Linked DNA regions of Homo sapiens: region 2 is linked to region 1. Evidence: promoter capture Hi-C in human tissues and cell types (Jung and others, 2019). All regions are on one chromosome and are shown on one strand. Each heading gives the region's core, a stretch centred on a gene start or on the middle of the fragment in contact. The rest is flanking DNA. Distances are from core to core; before and after follow the strand shown.

The links. Contacts are between HindIII fragments. The study calls those that stand out against the background at their distance.
Region 2: a fragment that was not itself captured here is called in contact with the fragment with the promoter of LRP1B in region 1 in 2 of the 25 tissues and cell types used here (H1 embryonic stem cells and hippocampus).

What each region holds. Positions count from the first base shown.
Region 1 is chr2:142,129,408-142,132,568 of GRCh38, forward strand. It overlaps LRP1B (LDL receptor related protein 1B), which reads right to left and starts at 1,609. Exons shown (of 91, transcript NM_018557.3): 1 at 1,241-1,609. The coding sequence starts at 1,322. RefSeq lists an enhancer at 1,477-2,676. The HindIII fragment of the contact is 3,160 bases long and covers 529-3,161 here.
Region 2 is chr2:142,048,126-142,051,616 of GRCh38, forward strand. All of the region lies in intron 1 of LRP1B (LDL receptor related protein 1B), which reads right to left. Among named protein-coding and RNA genes, the nearest start is that of LRP1B, 81 kb to the right of the region's middle. The HindIII fragment of the contact is 3,706 bases long and covers 1-3,271 here.

The sequences.
Region 1 (3,161 bases), core at 359-2,858:
GGCTGCCAACAGCAGGTTGAATAGAAACACTGCAGTTCATTCCCCTGTTCTTTCCTATAATGAAGCAATATTTTTTGTCAATTCATAATCTGCTTCATGTAAATACAATAACTAAATCTCCCAATGCAACATTCTGCCTATTTGCTTGGCATTGGGATCTGGGTTTCTTTCTCTCTTTCTCTCTCTCTCTCTCTCTCTCTCTCTCTCTCTCTCTCTCTCTCTCTTATTTAAACTAAAAAGCTGAACTATACCAGTCAATATAAGCTCATTTTCTGATTTTAAAAAAATCTATGATACTTCTGATTTTACTTTAACCAGTTAACCATTCCAAGGCCAGGGCCAGTGCCCCAAATATTCATCTAGTATTTTCCTCCCTTTTTCACCAGTGCATCTGTTGTCAAAGATTATTAAACTCGCACAGGGATTCTTGATTTTCCAGATGAAAAGTTTATAGAATCCCGGCTTTTTCTAATTCCTACCTCCTTTCTCCTCTGCTCCCCATATCCATTCCCTTCTAAACTTCTACCATTCACCAGCTGCTTGGAGAAAAAGGAAAAGCAAAGCGCCAGACTGGAGAGAGGCACTCCAGGGGTGGGTTAGCCCCTCAGAGCACCTGGGCTGTGTCACAGACCCTCATAATCGAAAAGTCAATTTCAAGCAGGTGCGTGCGCCCGGAATCGTCCTAAAAGCCTCTCTGCTGATGACAGGACTCTGACCCCAGTCTGCCCCCAGGAAGGGGCTATAGAAACGAAAGGGGCCTGAATCGGCGCTTTCGCCGCTCCACGGACCTCGAATGCAGCAGGTAAGGAAGTTAACCTGGGAGCTAAGTTGAGGGCGGACACGCTTAACGCGGAGAACCTGGAGCTCGCAAAAGCTCGCAGTTGAGGGCCATCGCGGAGGGAAGTCTTTCGGAAATGCGAATTCTCATTCCAACATCTGCAGCGCTTAGAATTCGCGGACAGAAGCGCACAGCCAAGTGCACACACTCCCGGAGGGGACAAAATGGGGACCGGGAAACGGCCAAAGGGAAAAGCTGTGGGGGTGCCGAGGACTCAGGCACTTGGTTCAGAAATCCCGCACCGCACCTCTCACCCCCGCACAGGGCCAGCGCACGGTGGTCACCCGGTCCCGGGGAGCGGAGCTGCAAGGACTTAAGTTTCACACTCACTTATCTGCAAGCATCGCCCAGCAGGAAAGCCAAGGAAGTCAGGGGAGGGGAGCGGGGAGGTGTTCTCCTTACCTCGGTCGGCTCCCACGGTCAGCACCCTGGCAATCGGCAATAATCCCGAGAGAGTGAGTAAGGCGAGGAGAAACTCGGACATTGTGGTCGCCCGGTAAGGAAGCCTGCGCTGGAGACTGCTCGGCGGCACCTTCGGCCCGGCGGCGGCGGCGGCGGCAGGGGCCGCTTGGAGCCTGGAATCGAGCGGCGTCATTTACAAATGTCACTGGAAATTCTTCAGCTCAATGAGTCCAGCCAGTCAGCCTTCTCCTGCCTGGAGCAGGATGTGGAAGGTGGAGGGATGCGCGCGTGCGGGAGAGAGGAGGCAGAGCGTGTGTGAGCGCGAGCGAGACGCCCGTGTGTCTTGACTTTTCAATGCAGGGTACGTCTGATCTTACATCACGCAAGAGGGGCAGTGAGAGATGCCAGCGGATGGGAATTCACTGATTAATCACCGAATCCACCACACACCCCTTCGTCGTTCACATAAATCACATCTATTACTTAATAAGAGGCATTTAACACAACAGGAAAATACCACCGCGAACGGAGAGCGCCACAAATCACAATTATTTTAATCCCCTTGAAGGGAAAGTAACTCGAAGCTGGTTCTGTGGGGATTTGGGTCTTTGGAGAAGGGAGAGACTTCTGCATTGGCCTGAGCCAGCCAGGCGCCTACAATGCTCCGCAGTTCACAGCCAGCTGAGAACCCTCAGCCGAGCACAGGGCTGCTTCTGCAGGCAAAACAAAGCTTCTCCCTTCGTTCCTCGGAAGCTTCCTTCCCGGGAAGGAAGGACAAGCCAAGGAACAGAGCTTCTCTTAGGGAAATGGTTTCCTCGGCTCTACACAGAATCCCAGTACTTCCTGAATTGCACTTTTAACTTTTATGCTGAGCAGCACCTGGGGACAAAGAGGCAAAATTTAGTGACTCAGCAGAAACAGAAAGCAAAACAACCCCCAAAGTCATTAACCGTTGCGTAAGAAGGGAAGGTTAATGGAAAAGGCTATTGAGGTCCCCAGGCAGGGAACAATAAAGCAACGAATTGGCAGCGTTTTTCTCTGGGGTTCTGTCTTTAAAAGGGTACTTCGAGCCATTTTAAACAGGCTTTGAGGGTTTTGTTGTTTTTGTTTTGTGTTTTGTTTTGTTTTCCTTTTCCATATACTACAGGGGCGGTGTAAGAACTTTCCCGAGCCATCGGAGGCATCAACGGGAATCACTGGAATAATAATATTAGTAAAGTTGTTTTTATGACCACTTAAGTTTACAACATGATCATCCCAGTCCCTAAAATTTTAGTTTGCCATTACAAAGTGGCTACGGAATTAAAACTCAGAAATCTTAATAGTTGTAGACTTACTTTCTTCCTTGTAACATCAGGAATTCTCTTCTAAGAACAAGAGTTGAAAAGGTTTTATATTTAATATTTTGAAACTGGACATGAGTGGAGAGGAAAACTATGAGAAGGGAACAGAACTAAGGAAGAGAACGATTGAAAAGTGAAGGAAGATGCTTTAAAAGCTTTATTTACTTTGCTGTTTGAGACTTATAAGTGAATGCCAGCATTACTATCTACCTATTTATGAGAGTAAAATTATCCAGAAATATCTTTAGATGCTCCTTTGAAGCCATTAAAAACTGGACTAGATGAAAGAACACAGAGATGACTTTGCAGAACATTGTCAATAATCTGTGGATTTCACCTTTTTATTCTTACTCTGTGATTATAAATGTATTTTATGTCACTTTTTCCATGTTTTAAATTATAAAGTTTACTTTCCCTTGAAAATACAACCATTTTGTGTTTGAAATATGACTCCTACATTCAAAAGTGTATGCTTAATTTTTTTTTTTTTTTTTGAGACGGAGTCTCTCTCTGTTGCCCAGGCTGGATTGCAGTGGCGCGATCTCGGCCCACTGCAAGCTCCACCTCCCGGGTTCACG
Region 2 (3,491 bases), core at 169-2,668, 81 kb before region 1:
GCTGAAGCACCTCTGCATTCGTCTTACAAAAGTAGGCAGCATCTGCAAAGTTTTGTCTTTTAGTTTTTTTCTGCCTTGTTGAGGAAAGGGATTTGGAAATGGAATTATAAATGTCCATTTATTTCTAGGCATTGCAGGTATGCCATCTTGTACATACTTACTTTTCTGGTGGAAAAAGTAAAGCTTTTGGAGGTTAACTAACATGGCCAACATCACAGCTAATAATTGGCACAGTAGGGATTCCCCTCATAAGTTTTGACTTGCACATAATGGACTGATCTTTACTTAGCCTACTTTTGCAGTTTCAGCAACTGCCATCAAAAGTTATTTTCTGAACATTCTTCTTAAAAGAAAGAGTGAAACTCTTTCTACTATGGACATGAATTTCAAACACCCTAAGTATTTAGCAAATAGGCTTTTTTGTCCATTTGTAAAATATTTTGTCACAAAGATACAGAATAGAAATTTGAAGTGTTTATTTACACTTGCTACTAGTCTAAAGCTTATGTCATTGCTACTTGTAGTGTATGTAAAAATTGCATTTTATAGCAAATATTGCTATCGTGGAAAGTCTTTTATAACATTCTTCATTTCCAAGGCAAATAATGTGACACTGACATCAATGAAAGAGAACCTTATGGTCTAAGTTGAATAACTATTGGGCAATGAAAATTGCATACTTAAAAGATGAGTGTATTTACAATGGACTAATAAAGAGAAGATTCATGTCTTTATTAAAAACTTAGAAGCATAAATTATCAGGCCTGAAAAGTACTTGTTTAAAAATAAAATGTTTAATTTAACTGACTAATTCCCCTTCTACTAAAATGTAGAAATACTTTAGGATGGGAATAATTTGTTTAAATCAATAGTTTCTAAATGTCTCAAAGCATTGGACAATTTTAACTGCATTTTAACTGTTATTTGATTAAAGATCATTTTCATTAAATGTATGAAGCTACTATATTCAAGAACTCCAGAAAGAAAGTTGATTACTAAAAAAAGGCCCCTTTTTTTCTAACAAAAAGTGTTAGTACTAAGTGCATGAACAATCAATCCAGAGAAGACAGATGGTCAACAAAGCATTTCACAGAAAACCTTGTACTTTCCATATGTTGTTATATGCAATGCATGAAGTTTTCTGCTAGCACAGAGATTAAAAAATAAAAGCACACATCATATTTGTCTGAATTTTTCTTTTCTTTCCACTACTCTTATATCTTGCTTACATCCACTCAGCCTAATATAGCTTTATTGCAACTTTTATAAAGGTATGAAGAAAGCTTGATATACATCACATAAGGACATATTCAGAGTTAAGACAAAAGACAATGGCAATAAGAGTGTCAAATACTATATGAACTATATGGTATCAGATTACATTAACATGAAAGTATGTGCCAATACTGCGTTCTCCTTGAGGTATTACAGTGTTTGGCTATGTCTGTGGTAGCCCTTCTGCTGACATAGTCTTTCTTCCTTCTTTTAATTATAATGCCTCACGATTCCCATGACTGCCCAATTGTCTTTAAAAGGTTTCATCCACTGCTCTGAAGAAGCTCTCTGCCTACCCATTCAATTTACAGCAAGTATTTGAAAGAGTGGCAGATGCACAGGCAACAGCCATTTATTGAAACACTGATTCCATTTAAGATGGTCTAAAACCCATTCTATCTTCCATCAGGTATAAGTAATGGCAACTTTTCCTTATTCTTTATGAGTACAAAGATGAAAATACAGAGATAGAGGATTGTTGGATTCTTCCTCTTGTGGATAAATTACTTTACAGAGTAAAAGTAAATAAGCACTTCTATCGCATGGCCACCAATGCTAAGCTTTATGACCGAGGAAATCAGAAGCTCTAAAGGTAAAAACTTACATAGTCTGTGAGGAGTAGGTACTCTGCTTTTCAATTTGGACACTAAGCTTTCAAATTAGTTGCTTGAATAGCATGCTTATGCTTATCAATGTCCTGTTAATTTTTTCCTGTTGAATTACATAATTAAGTATTCTCTTTCTATGTGCATATATGTAATACATAGGTATACACACACAGAGAGAAATTTCATATATAGTCATATGCATATAATATACATATTTTATATGGCAATTGCCTTTAAAATTGTAATAAATGTGGCACTTCTCGCCAGTTTCAAGTAACAAAATAAATCTTAAAGCTATAACAAGTATATTATCATTTGAAACCTTAATAATTCTAATCTAGTTATACAATCTTACCTTCTAGCTTGTGTGTAAGCCATAAAAGTTACTGAAAACAATAGGAAAACATTGTTTTGACAGGTGCCATTATACAATAAATGTTCTTCTATTTTTGTACAATAGATTACAATTGCCATTCTGAATAAGTGTTAGGGTGAAATATCAAGACATCACATATCCTACAATTCAATTTTTGTTATTAAAAAATCCCTCTGTGCCAATATAAAATGATTGGTTATTTTATTTCTCTTAGTAACTTACCTTAAAGAGAATATTTAAAATGATTCATTTAGCTGAATTACTTGATACCAATTTTTATCAACTGGCAGAAAATCTATTGAACGAGTAGCTTATATGAAGTAAAACTCCCACCTATGCCCAACACAACCAATATATATTGAGGATACTACCACAAAGATTCTTCACCTTTTGCTTTGAGGTAGCCATCTCCCCATAAACTCCTTTCCCAACTAAATTTATATATAGGAAATTAGGATACCTCCAAACATTCTACCTCATTCATATTAAATATTTTTTCTCCATCATGTGTGAGTCTACCAGACAAATAAATATGTGACAAGAAAATATCACCAGGAAAAAGAGCAATATTAATATTAAAGTTACAGTCCTGAGAAATATAATGTGAAGAAAGTATCAGCAAACACATAATGGGGGTGGGAAAGAGGCAGAAAAATGTAAGATTGAGAGAAGACGTTAAGTTCAGCTTCTAAGAATAAGACCATGAAAGAGGATATGAACATTTGAAGAGAGTATGGCCAGTAAAGTAGAGGAGTGTGAGGCAGTAACTTCCAAAGAGTCCAAGTAGTGCCTTTCTAACAGGCACATTGTTGGTGAGGGGGTGGGGAAAGGACATTCACGTAGGAGGTTGCTGGAATTATAAACTGAGACAATATTTAGAGAGCTATTTGGTAAGACTTAGTACATTTTAAATGTGGAATCTCTGTAACCTAGTAATTTTAGTTTTAGGAATATAGAGTACAAAAATACACAATCAAAGGTATATCCATATACCTTTGTAGGATGTTCACCACAATCAGCTTAAAAATGGAGAATAATGGTGGAAAAAAGTAACTAATAGGGGCATAATTAAAGGTGTGTTTTTTTGTTTTTTTGTTTTTTTTTTGTTTTTGAGATGGAGTCTCGCTCTGTCACCCAGGCTGGAGTACAGTGGCGCGATCTTGGCTCATTGCAACCTCTGCCTCCTGGTTCAAGCAATTCTCCTGCCTCAGCCTCCCTAGTAGCTGGGACTA